Regions from separate parts of the Homo sapiens genome. Here region 1 is linked to region 2. Evidence: promoter capture Hi-C in 16 types of primary human blood cells and fetal thymus (Javierre and others, 2016). All regions are on one chromosome and are shown on one strand. The core of a region is centred on a gene start or on the middle of the fragment in contact, and the rest is flanking DNA. Distances in the headings are between cores, read along the strand shown.

Region 1 (6,288 bases), core at 2,118-4,617, 180 kb before region 2:
AAGCCTGTTTTACCAAACCCTGCCTTACCACAAAAATTTTCACTGGAGATTGCTGGACTAGTCTTTGCCTTCTAGCAACGAAATAGGAAACATTGGGAAATTAAGAAAAGAAAAATTATAGGCTGCCTGGAAGGTATTATAATTTTTGCAGACATGGAGGGTCCCCTTGTCCTCTCCTTCTCTCCCTCTCAGAGTGAGAGGGCAGGAGTTTGGGTGAAACATTGTTACAAGGGGTAAGTGGTACACTAAAGAGCATAACTTCTCATTCCATATGAAAAGTCCAATGCAGGTGTTTCTGCAATGTAGCAATGGGAGGAAAGGGATGGGCATCAAAGAGAGAGAGGTGAGTGGGGCAAAAAGGTGATGGAGAGGCCGCCCCACCTGGAGGATGCTTCCAGCGTCTCCCTGAATGAACAGGTTGCCATTAAGCAAGTTAGATGGGGCAGGAAGCATGCTCAATGGCATGGCTCCCGAGCTGGGGAGACAGGACCTGGCTGGAGAGTATGACTGCAGGCAATAAATAGCAGTCCCAAGAGTGATAACCAACAGGTCCTCCACTCACATCCTCACATTTCACCTGTGCGGGCCTCAGTTCCTCATGGGAGAGGCAGACTACGAGACTGATTGCTGGTTCTGACCACAGATGATTTTGTTAAGGGTGAGCCCTGAGAGCAAATCCCTTCCCAAGCCTGCCTCTGGCCAGGAGGATGTTGCAATCTGCCTGGCACAGACAGCACTGGGTCCTTGCTATGAGAGAAGGTTATGGCACTGCTGGCCTTGCTGCGGATGGGTGGGGCACATCCTCTTGGGCCTCTCTGTCTCTCACCCCTGCATCCTCCTCCCCAGTAGGACCCCTCCTCACTGCTCCACCCACCAGCCTGAGAGTGGCTGCCAAGGGTGGAGGCTGCAGCAGGAAGAAGGGCAGTAGTCCTTGCCCACTGTGGTTGCCGCCCCCCTGCCTGCCCACAACCCTTCCCTGCATGCCAGGAGTCAGGAGGCTCTGAGTAGAAGCAAAAACCAGAGGCCTTTCAGCTCAGAGGGAGTCTCTCTCTCTCTGTCTCTCTCTCTCTCTCACACACACACACACACACACACACACTCGTGCTCATACACACTCGTACATGAACACACCCCCATGCACCCTTACGCCCCCACTTGTGCAGGTGTGCACACCCTCTCATACACAAACACACTCTCACTTTAGACTTTAACATCAAGGATATTTCTGTTCCCTTCTCTCTTCTCCTTCCCTCACAAAAGGACTCCAGCTGGCTCTCCAGTGGCAGCCACAGAGCCTCGAACCATCTGGAAACATAAGCACGGCAGGATTGTGCGAGGCTGGAGGTGAAGACAGCCGGGGTCATGGGAAGGGAGGCGGAAAAACAAGACAGTGCCAGATCCCAGTCAAAACAGCATGTTCGTCCCGCTCAAATCTCATCAAAATGCCAAGATTCCCCCTGCCACGTGCCCGCCCAGGCAGCTTGCCCCAGACCCCGACATTCTGCCTGAGCTGTGTGCCACCAGCCTTCCTGCCCCATTCCACCATCAGCACCCACTCTGGTGACTTCAAAAAACAGCCACACAGTCTAATTTTAGCTCTAATCTTCCCTGGCCATGGTTGTGTGGTTTCTAATTATTTTATTCCCAAGATTTACCTTGATGGATAGTTATACATTTTCCAATTTACTGTACAATATCTTGTAAAGTGCCCTTTAAAAAAAATGTGTGGATAATTCCATGTTGTTAATTTTCCCAGCTCTAAGGAGAAATCTGCAGATAATCGCCTGCCCTAGAAGCTCTGATTCAATCCCCATTTCCTTTAATACTAATAAAATGGACAGTTCATTTATAAGAAGTTCCCTAAAAGAGGGTATGAAAAACATTATATTTCTTTTAAAGTTGTTAAAGGGCATAAATCCATTACTCAGATAGAGATCGCTTAATAATTTAATGCCTTTGGCTTGGCATTGTTCCCAGAATATTTTCACTTTATCTGTCTTTATTTCCAGGTTGGAACAAATTGAGGAATAATCAGCTCTGTTGGCGGGAATTGTCGAAGAGTCTGCAGGGAGGCCCGAGGAAGACGTGGGGGAGTTGGACAGCCTTCCTGACTGTCCATCTCCCTCATAGGCCTTCAGTCCAAGGAGCGGGGCAGGTGTGGGGCACTGAGGGGGTGGCCAAGGGGGAACAAGGCTTTCCTTTTGGCCTCCACGTGGTGGGGAATGTGCCCTGCAGGTTGTCTGGCAGGCTCTGCTTTCCGGGAAGCAGGGGGCTGCCTGGGAGGCAGCCACCCCCACCTCCCTCCCTCCTGCCCAGTGAGGCAAACAGGTGGGAGGGCCTCGAAGCAGAGCCTTTCTGCAAAGGGGATTAGTTTGCATTTTCTAAATAAAATCATTTACATGATGTATTAACCCAACCCCATAATTAAAATCATTAATGTTTCTTTGTGCAGATTAGCCAAAAAGAGAAACTAAGTGCAGGAATCAACATTCCTTCTTACAGGCTCATCAAACAACACTCCCCTGAAGAAGGCTTGAAAGCTTCATCCACCAGTCCTCTCCCCAACACAGCAAGGTTTATCCCCTGTTCAGGGATTCTTGCTGACTAGTTTCAGCAGTGTTTGCAGGATGTCTGCCCCAACCTAGCTGAAAGCAACCCAGTGGGAAGCTGGTTGGGAGCTGGAAGCAAGGCCTGAACAGGACAGTTGGGCTTAAACACAGCTCTCAGACGGAATCCCTGTGTATTCCTTTTCCTTGCTCCTCAGTTTCCCCTAAAAAAATAAAGCCACTGAACTAAAATGATGCCTATGGGATCTTCCTAGAAGTTTCCCAGCACCATGACAGGTGTGCTGCTCCCATGCCTGGGACAGATTTTTGGCCATAATTGGTGCTCAGCTCAGGTTTGTTGAAGAGAATGGAATTGAACATGCTGGAAGGGGATGGACATAGGATGGGAAGAGGTGAAGACATCATCACATCTGGTGCAAGGATGTGAGCTGCCAGTGGGTGGGGCTGTGCAGCTACTGATAGTCCAAGGCGAAAGGGCAGCCTGAGGCCAGCAGCATGGCGCCATAGAGGAAGAGTTAACAAACACTGCTAGGGGAAGGTGCAGAGTGAGAGTGCAGACCCAGGCATCTCTGCACGGAAAGCCCCCTGCCCCTACAGGCTCAGAAGTGCCTGCTCCCGCTGCCTGGCCTCTCCCTGCTCCTGGTGCCCACTCTGATTTTGGAGCAAAGTTGTGGCCAAGCCTGGGAGCTGTCACAAGCCAGCTGGGTATGTGCATGCTCAGGCCAGAACTGACACACCAGACCCCTGCTGCCTCGGCCCCCTCTGGACTTTGGGTGCCAAGGAGAACGGGAGGGAGTCTGAAGGGGTGCTAAGGGTGGCTTGGTGCAGGCTTGCAGGCACCTTTGGCACTAACAGCCTGGGCGCACTGGCACTGTGGATGGCCGGTTAATGGTAGCAGGAGGCAGACAGGCTCCTGGGTAAAAAGTGCAGGTCCCTGGTGAAACCCCACCTTCAGGCCAGGGACAGCCTGAGGCCTGGGGGCCAGGCTGCCATTTCCACAGACCAGAGTGAGAACTTATGGTGCTTTTTCTGGACCCTCCCATGGCCACCCATAGACCAATCAGAGTGCACTTTCTCCCCTCTGAAGCCCATAAAAACCCTGGTCTCAGCCAGACTTGGATAGACAACAGGACAACCTGCCTGCAGAGAGGAGCTACCCACTGTACTCTCTACTGAGAGCTGAGAAAATAATAGGATGAACTGCCTGCAGAGAGCAGTTACCCACTGTGGGTCTCCTCTCTGCTGAGAGCTGAGCAGACAACAGGCCAACCTGCCTGTGGAGAGGAACTACACGCTGTGGGTCTCCTCTGAGCTGCTCTGTTGCTTAACAGAGCACCTTTTTGCCTTGCTCAGCCTTCACTTGTCCACGTACTTCATTCTTCCTGGATGCAGGACAAGAACTCAGGACCCACCGATGGTGGGGCTGAAAGAGCTTTAACACAAACAGGGCTGAAGCATGCCCCTTGCTCATTATATTGCAGGCACCAAAAAGGAGAGAAGAGAGAAGGAGAGAAGAGCTGCGGCCCTTTGGGAAGCCCAGACCAAGGAGCTCCCTGAGCCAGGGCTGTGACACCCTCTTTAGGGCTCTGCGGTTCCAGGCACCACCAAGTTCCCCAGTGCCAGCCATGTAAGCTTCTTGTGGTAGGGTCTGGTCCCGGCACAGCCTTGCAGGGAGCTGGTACCTGTGCCAGTGCCTGGTGCTGCCCACCCTGCTGCAGCCAGCATGCTTAGCTGTGCACAGTGGCCAGACCCCATGCTCATTTGCTCACATACCCCTCGCTGCTCCACACCTGGCTCATCCTTGGCAGGCGTGGGATCCAGGCCAGTAGTGCCAGCTGAGCACAGCCTGCCAGGCTGAGTGGGCAAAACGAGCCCAGGAGGCCTGAGCAAAACTCAGGCAAAGGCACTACTGGCCACAGAGGTTTCCAGCCAGAAAAGTAACACTCCAAGGATCCTGAGACAATGTGAAGATAGAGGCAAAGATTGGAGTGGTGCATCCATCAGCCAAAGAACACTGATGATTGATGCTAATCCTCAGAAGCTAGAAGAGGCAAGGAAAGATTCTTCCCTATAACCTTAAGAGAGAGCCCAGCTAATACCTTGATTTCAGACTAGAACTGTCAGAAAATACATTTCTGTTGTTTTAAGCCACCTACTTTGTCATACTTTGTTATGGCAGCCCCGAGAAACTAACACATCTGCCAAGATGCCAGACTTGTGAGTGATACTATCCTGGACCCTCTAGACCAGCCCATCTGCCAGCTAAGTACCACCATATGACCTCAGTTAAGGTCACCTGGAACAGAAGAATCATCAGCTAAGATCTGTCCAAATTCCTGATCCACAAAATCATGATATATAATAAAATGGATTGTTATTTTAACCCATGAAATTTTGGGGTACTTAGTTTTGCAGTAATTGAAAGACATACACAGTAAGTCTGTGGCTGAACTGGAACTAAAATTTAGGTCTCCTGCCTCCTAGTTAATTCAGTAGGGCTTTCCATTCTCCATGGCTTCTCCTGCTCATAAGCCAGTTATTATTCTCAGCAGTTTCATTTGCATACATCTCATAAGTTTTATCCCAGTACCCCAGTTAAGATGTACAATTCATTGAGAACAGATAAACAGCATGCCATCTTGATGCCACCATCAACACCAACCCCCTGGTTGAGTGTTGGAGGTGAAGGCTATAAGCAACAGCAAAACAACAGAAACAAGAAGGGCATGTAGGTGAAACAGTATATAAGAGTACAGGTTTTGAGGTGGCAGGGAGTAAGGATGTTGAATGGGAGAGGCATGTCATGGCTTGAATATGTCCCCTCCAAAAGCATATATTAGAAATTTAATTCCCAATGCAGCATTGGCAGGTGGGGTCTAATGAGAGGTGGTTAGGCCATAAGGGCTCTACTCTCACGAACAGACTAATGCCATGATTGTGGGAGTGGGTTTATTATAAAATGACAAGTTTGCACTCTCTCGCGCGCACGCTCTCTCTCTCCCTTCACCCCCCACCTTCCTCCATGAGATGACACAGCAAGAAGGTCCTTGCAAGATGCCAGCACCTTGATATTGGACTTGCCAGCCTTCAGAACTGTAAGAAATAAATTTTTCTTTATAATGTATCCAGTCTCTGGTATTCTCTTACAGAAGCACAAAATGGACTAAGATGAGGTGAATTCAGATTGTAAAAGGCTTTGAATGTCAGGCTAGAAAGCCAGAATACAAAGAGCATACATAACAGTGGATATCCTAACAGGAAGACCGGTGAGCTGGAATCAGTCAGTGCTATCTTACTGCCTACATTACTGCCCCTGTTCTAGCTGACTGGATGCCACCTGCTTTCCCCAGCTTCCTAGCAGTTAAGGACACTTGTGAAACACCTGTACTCAGAAACGCAGCTACAACATAAGCCAAATCGACAGCACTTTTGAAAATCAAGGTCTGCATGTTGAGAGCCATGTTGTTTTTAAATGGGTGTTCATAGTTTCTGGGATAGGTCCCATATTCATCTGTGCTTTTTTAATAAAGGGAAATGTTTAGGTAAATTATATCAGCTGCTGCCAGGGGGTGGGAGGCTGCTTGTGGCAAAGCCCAAAGGCCGAGAAATTCTAGAAATGCATTTATGAGATTTCAACCTTGCCACCTCAGAGCCTCTCCAGGTGGTAATGGCCTCTCCTTTGAGGGTGGTTGGGTCAGTTCCATCCACATCAGTCAGTCAT
Region 2 (6,564 bases), core at 2,487-4,986:
GGCACTCCAAGAAGCCCTGCAGGATGCTGCACACAGGCTGGGGTTCACTCCGGTACCCTCCCTGCAGGATGCTGCACACAGGCCGGGGTTCACTCCGGTACCCTCCCTGCAGGATGCTGCACACAGGCCGGGGTTCACTCCTGTACCCTCCCTGCAGGATGCTGCACACAGGCTGGGGTTCACTCCGGTACCCTCCCTGCAGGATGCTGCACACAGGCCGGGGTTCACTCCTGTACCCTCCCTGTAGGATGCTGCACACAGGCCGGGGTTCACTCCGGTACCCTCCCTGTAGGATGCCGCACACAGGCTGGGGTTCACTCCAGTACCCTCTGTGTGGTTCATTGATAGGTTTTCTTCCAGTGGGACACAGTCATCCTGGGGAGAAGTCACTGCTATAGATGGTTCCAGACCCTTGAGTCTCTTCTTCCCAGGAGGGGAGGATGGGTTATAAATAGCCTGGACTCCTTCAGCCCTACACAGGCACAGATCCCACACCCCCGCCCCAGCCTCAGCCAGCTGGTCCTTCCGCGCCCAAGTTCCCACAGCCTGCTATGAGAGGGAGGACAACTGCCCACCCTCGGTGGGGGCAGGGAACAAAAATGCCCTGGTGACAGCCTCCAGTGAACTGTAACTACAACCCCACCACTCCTTCATACCCCCTTCACACCGCCCCTGCTGGAGAGGGGTGAGAGGCCGGTAATATTACTAGGGGGTCTCTTATACCCTGGTCAGCCCAGGAAGCCCAAGTTGCGTGCTGAGAATGTTAATTCAGTGGGAAAAGTTATAGGAATAATACTCTCCCCGTCTCTCTGCCTCAGTTTCTCCCTCTGTAATATGAACAAATAGCTGAACTATCTATCTTGTGGGAATGCTGATGAGATTAGCATGCAAAAAAAGTGAAAGGCATCGTAACACTGTATTATTATCAGAATATCAGACATTGACTTCTTCTGTAGGACCCCTAAACACAGGAGATGTGGAGTAAGGGGGCACTGATTTCTATCTGTTCATGAAAGCAGAAGAATTATACCCGGCAACTCTGCACTAGCCTTGAATTCTTGATACTCTGTGTCCTTGAAAGCAATCAAACTTACAAAATATTCTCTCTTGCAAGTCATTTCTGACTAATACAGATTGACACACATTGCATCCAGCTTATTTTCATAAAATTCTGCTGGACTGTATATGACATTATAGACTGAAATCTAGCATCGCCCTAGAGTATTATGGTTTTGGAGGAAAAAGTTCACATAACAATCACTCTGGTTATCATTCAATTCCTTCCTGCTCATACACACTGGTACAAAATAAGTGGCTAAAATCAAAGTGGCCAACTCGTAGTTCTTTTTTAATTTAGACACTTTGTTTGCTCAATAAAATACAGAGTAAAAAACATTTACTGAAAACCCACTCATTGATGTTTAATGGCTGTGTCAAATACTCATAACAACATTTATTCCAACACCCCCAGATAATTGCTCATCTTTCTCATTTGGTATCCACAACAGCACAGCATTTGTGTCCAAGTGTAATTGATCCAAAATTGGGCTCCCTTTCAAAAATATCTGTAAAATCTAATTACCAGGAAAACAGAGTTCTGGCATCCTATGGAAAGTGGGTGCTTCAGTGAAAAAAAGCTGCAAATTCTTCTTGGCTAATCAAGCTGCATTGTGTTACAAAAGGAGTTTGAGGAATTTGGGATAATGAGGGAGCAGGAAAAGTTGGGATAGTGTCAGACTGGACTTTGCAGTGACAGTCCTGGTTTTTTTAAGCCAAGGGCACGGGACGGGAAATATACCACATTCGCTGGCAAGCATGGATTTAGAAAGTACCAGATAAAGAGGCCATGATGGGCTTGGGGTGTGGGGGTGGCATTTCTGATCTCAAGCCCTACCAGGCCTTGCCCAGGGAAGTCTCTCCACCCTTGCCTGGAAGGCTGATGTCATTTCTAGTCTCACTGGGCCTCTAGCCACTGTAGCAGGTCACTTTCCTTCCTTGGGCCTGAGTTTGCTCATCTGTAAAATGAGTGCTCCTAATATCTCTAGGGTCTCTTTCAACTTCAAAATCCTATGACCTTCTATAAAGCAAAGGGCATGCTTTTTGCTCATGTACTTGTGGGGGCAGGGAGCGGGAGCCACCGGACCAAGGAGAATGAAGGACTGAGAGTTTCCACCTCTCACGCAGTTTTGTACCTAGTTTCAACACCCGGGTATCTGGCCCGCTCTGGGAATAATGATTTCTTTCAGCCCAGGACGACCTACCGAGGTGTTTCTACCTCGCTGCCCTGGATTCCTCAACCCCGCCAATGAAGAACAGGGCCAAGCCACCGGACTTCTCGGAGCCTCTCTCCCAGGTCTGGGCACAGTATATCTTCTTTTAAGGGGTCTTCCCTTCCCACTCCCACTCCTCTTTCTGTCCTAGAAGCACCAGAAACTCCGGCTCTAGCCTTGCGCATGGTCCAGCGAGACTTCCCATACAGGCAGCGCACGCCACCCACCCCCAGCTCCCCTCGGCCTTGCGCCCGCGCCGCGGAAGGTTGGGTACCAGCCTCCACAGCTTTGCAGATTGCAAAGATAACGGGAGCTGCCGCTTCGCTTTTCTTTGGCTCCTCCTGGCCTTCATCCTAGTAAAACCAGACAAGCAACCGGAAAAACAAAGCAGCACAGCGGCCAGAGACAATTCGCTTTCAACGGAGCAAGAGACGTACACACCTTGAGAGAAGACGCACGCAGTTCCCGTGCGTGTCGCTGGGAACAGACCTCGCACTACCCCGCGCGGCGACAGGCACCGGGCCAGGCTCGGCTTCACTTGTCCGAGGCTTGGAGGAACTGTGTGCGTGCGCCCATTTCCCCCAGCTTCCCGACTTGACAGCAGCAAGGATCTTTGAGTCCTGCATGAGCGACACCTCGGGCAAGGACTGTACTCTGCTCAGATCTCATCGAGAGGTGCTGGATCCCAGCCTTTCCAGCTCATTTTCCAATTTTCAAGAAAAGACAGCGCGAAGTGAGACTGCAAAAGTCCCAGGAAAACGTCACTCACCAAAACGCTCCCGCGCCTTCCAGGCAGAAGTGCGGTAAAACTTTTGGCAGAAACCACCTGTGGCTGCCGACGGGCCCGCCCCGCTCGGGCCCGCAGGCGCCGCCGAGCCCCGGGCCGCACGCGCCCGCAGAAGTTCCTTTCCAGCCCCGCGCGCCACTTCGCTCCGGGCCGCGGTGCCAGCCAGGAGGCGCGGCGCCCGCTCGCTGGCTCGCTCTCCGCTGGCTCTCCCCTCCCTCCTTCCCTCCCTCCCTCCTCCCGCCTCCTCCGTTGCATGGCTGCCGCACGGAGCCCCTGAATAGCCACCGCAGCCCCCCGCCTCCTGCCCACCGCGCGGAGGGCGCCCCTGCTCCAGCCGGCGCCCCAAGGCGCGCGGACCGCCGGCCTCCTAGCAACGGCCCCCGCAATCGCTTTCCGGCGCAGCCCAAGCAAAGCCACCCGCCCGCCGCCCCGCGACCTCCCGAACTGCCTCGGCTGCCGAGGTGCTGTGGAGATCGCGACCCCGGCAGCCGGCGCCCGAGCCCGGCGCGCGAAGCCGCTCACCTCCGCGCGCCGCCGGCCCTGCGCGCCTCCCGCACTTGGCTCCGGGACGCAGTCCTGGCGTCCTCCTTCGCCGCCGGTGTCCGCCGGTCCCTGCGCGCCCGAGCCTCGCCGGCCGCGCCGCTGTCAGAGTCTCGTGGCGGGGCTGCGCCGGCGGGTATGGAGCTGAGCGGCGGCAGCGGGCGAGCGGGCAGCTCCTCCCTCCCCGCGCCGCGCCTCCGCCCTCCCCGCGCCCCGCCTCCCGCGCCGCGGCTGTCAGCCCCGCGCCCCGCGCCCCGCGCCCGCGCCGCCGGCTCGGGGGGCGCACAGGGCTAAAGGGCCCGGATGTGTGCGGTCGCCTGTCGCTCGCGCCCGCCCCCTCCCCGCCGCGCGGCACATGCACTTGCTGCGCCGCAGCCCCCGCCCGGCTCCGCTAATTTCTATTTTGACAGTAACTGTGGCGAGTGGGCGGCGCGGCGGGGGGCGCCCGGGACTGGCGGAGGCTGCGGGCGGGAGTCAGGACCCGACGCGGAGGCGGAGTGGGGGGGCCGGGCACCGCCACCAACCGCTCGGGGCTCCGCGTCTTTTCTCTTTCTTTCCTTTTTTCTCTCTGCCTCCTCCAGGATTTAAAGGGACAGCCCCGGCAGAGGCGAGGGGGCCAGGCGGCCGCCGTTTCTCCGGTCTCCTGACGCCCTCTGCGGCCCGGCCGGACCCGCCCGCACCCCCAGCGCAGGCTTGGGACCGCCGGGTATTTTTAGGTCCACACCCGACCCGGGGCAGCGGTGCGGCAGAGATGGGCTCTGCCGACCCGGGGCAGCGGTGCGGCAGAGATGGGCTCTGCCGCCCCGGCGCACGGCTATTTTTACAGAGTCCGATGGGGGAGGAAATAAAACAACTCGGCAACTGCTTTTCTACCCGAAAGTCGGGAGCAAGGAGTGGGGGCGAGAAGTTAAGTTTCCCAAATGCTCTCGGCACTCCAGCGAGCGCACCAAGACGCCTAGCCAGCACCTGAAACCGCAAGCTTGCCGCACCCCGGGGCGCCGAATCTCAGCGGGCAATCGCGCTCGGCGGCGCTGCGGCCCGGAGTCCCCACCCCTCTGGAGCCTTGGGCCCCGCACTCCGCACCCCACACGCCGGGGAGCAGCCGCTGGCCGCCCGTCACTCCCCGGGTCGGCCTGGAAGGCGGCCTTCCGAAGCGTCCAATCACCGCGCAACAATGCCAACGGGCGGGCCCGGGGAGGGCTTGTCCCCGCCCCGTCCCGCCGGGCCCCGCCCCCTCGGAGTCTGTCGGGGCAGGAGAATCTCGCTGGGACGCCGAGTGCTCAGCGGTGCTGGAAGCCACGAAGGGCCAGTGCGAGGGGAGGAGGAAGGGTCCTGGCCCTGGAGAGGGCGTGAGCGTTCTCGGGCGAGGCGACACTTGGGCAGATGTTCCCTCCAGCTACGGGCCGGGGAAACTCGAGCTGGCTTTGCCTCCTACCTTTTTGCAGTCCACCCCTCTGCGCTCCAGACAGACATAGGAACCCTCGCCCTCCTTGGTAGTACATCGGAGGCAGCACCCTCGCACGTCAGCGGGTCCTCTCCGGGGCTCCTCCCTCAGAAGCGGGAAAGTTTGTCGTCCTCAAACTCCTACCCGGCTGCGCTTATCTGAGGCGCACCTGGCGCCCAGGAGAGGCGAGATGGCGAATCCCGGCCGCCTAGTGCCCATTCTGGCTACGGATTAATAAAAGGGCAGTGGGGCTGCTGCTGTGTCCTTTAATGCTGAAGACACTGGATGACATTTTTTACAGAATTCACAAAAATAAGTTTGTGAACCTTTGGTGCCTCTTCCTAATATCACTTATTGGGATTTTTTTTTAAACCATTTCATTCATTCGTGTAATAAACGCACATTGCAAGATAGTACGTTGGGAGTAGTGAAAACAAGGGAAAACGGGCTCTGGAATAGGATGTAAGAGTGGAAAACTAGATATGAATAGAGGGATCTGAAACGTAGGGTTTGGGTACAATTATGTCACGTTTAATTTGCCAAAGAGATCTGGTTTTTCCTACTAAGTAAATTTCACCAAATGAACAGTTTGGACAGCCATCTTATCCAAACTATTCAAATGCACATGTAAATCTAGGATAGTCTATCGTGGAACCTAAGGTATGTTCAGGCTCAGGATGTCAGATTTCCAAGTTGCTAAAGCTTCCAGAATGGCAAAATAATATATCTCGCTTTCAGCAGCTGTGGCAGCCACTGCCCTCTCATATTAGGTTTGTCTCTCTGTTAAATTAAGTTGCCTGTCTTGCTTCCCTTCATTAAAGGGTTTTCAGTTACTTGGAATGCTGCTGACCCAGCTGATATGGCCCCGCTTCTAAGCCATAAGTCTGGCTGCGCCTCATGCCAAGCATGCGGATGCATTTAGAGAGCACCTAGAGGATCCCAGCCCTGCAAATGCCCAGACACCTGCAGGAAATAGAAATGTAGTTCTGGGGGTGAGGGCAGCTACAGCCATAAAAAGGGCATTTAGGTTGAGAAAAGAGGGATGTGGGCAGTAAATTAGACTCTAATAGTAAAGAGTCTAGTAAATAGTAAATAGACTCTAATATAAATGTGGCTCTAAATCAGAAAGTTTCTCCTCTCTTCTCTGGCTCAAAGTAGATGTTCTATAGCTTTAGCTCATGGAATAGCGTAAGCATGGAGATCCAGTGAGTGCTGTAAGATTTATTTGCAACGTACTAGTTTGGATGTAAGTGCAATGGTAAACGTTGCTTTGCAATAATTAATAGAATTTACTGCCAAACTTTAACAGTTATCAGCCATGTATCCTAGAAAAAAAGCATGTCATTCAACTCTCTAAAGCCTCCATTTCCAAATCTGTAAAAAGGGAGATAATAGTAGGTCCCTTTCTACTCCATAGAGATGCTGGAATGGTCGGGTGAGAAAAGGCGAGGGCAAGTGTTGCCCCATGAACAACATTCATTAAGGGGTTACTGTGTATTAAGCACTGTAGAGCACATTGTAAA

Evidence for each region. Contacts are between HindIII fragments. The CHiCAGO score rates a contact against its expected background, and 5 or more counts as called.
Region 1: a fragment that was not itself captured here is called in contact with the fragment with the promoter of ZBTB7C in region 2 in 1 of 17 cell types (M0 macrophages); the score reaches 7.4 in M0 macrophages.

The regions. Positions count from the first base shown.
Region 1 is chr18:48,227,676-48,233,963 of GRCh38, forward strand. The region is part of intron 2 of ZBTB7C (zinc finger and BTB domain containing 7C); the gene reads right to left. Among named protein-coding and RNA genes, the nearest start is that of ZBTB7C-AS2, 21 kb to the right of the region's middle. The HindIII fragment of the contact is 1,659 bases long and covers 2,539-4,197 here.
Region 2 is chr18:48,405,647-48,412,210 of GRCh38, forward strand. It overlaps ZBTB7C (zinc finger and BTB domain containing 7C), which reads right to left and starts at 3,737. Exons shown (of 5, transcript NM_001318841.2): 1 at 3,580-3,737. RefSeq lists enhancers at 2,018-2,637, 2,638-3,255 and a silencer at 4,526-4,905. The HindIII fragment of the contact is 6,800 bases long and covers 1-4,574 here.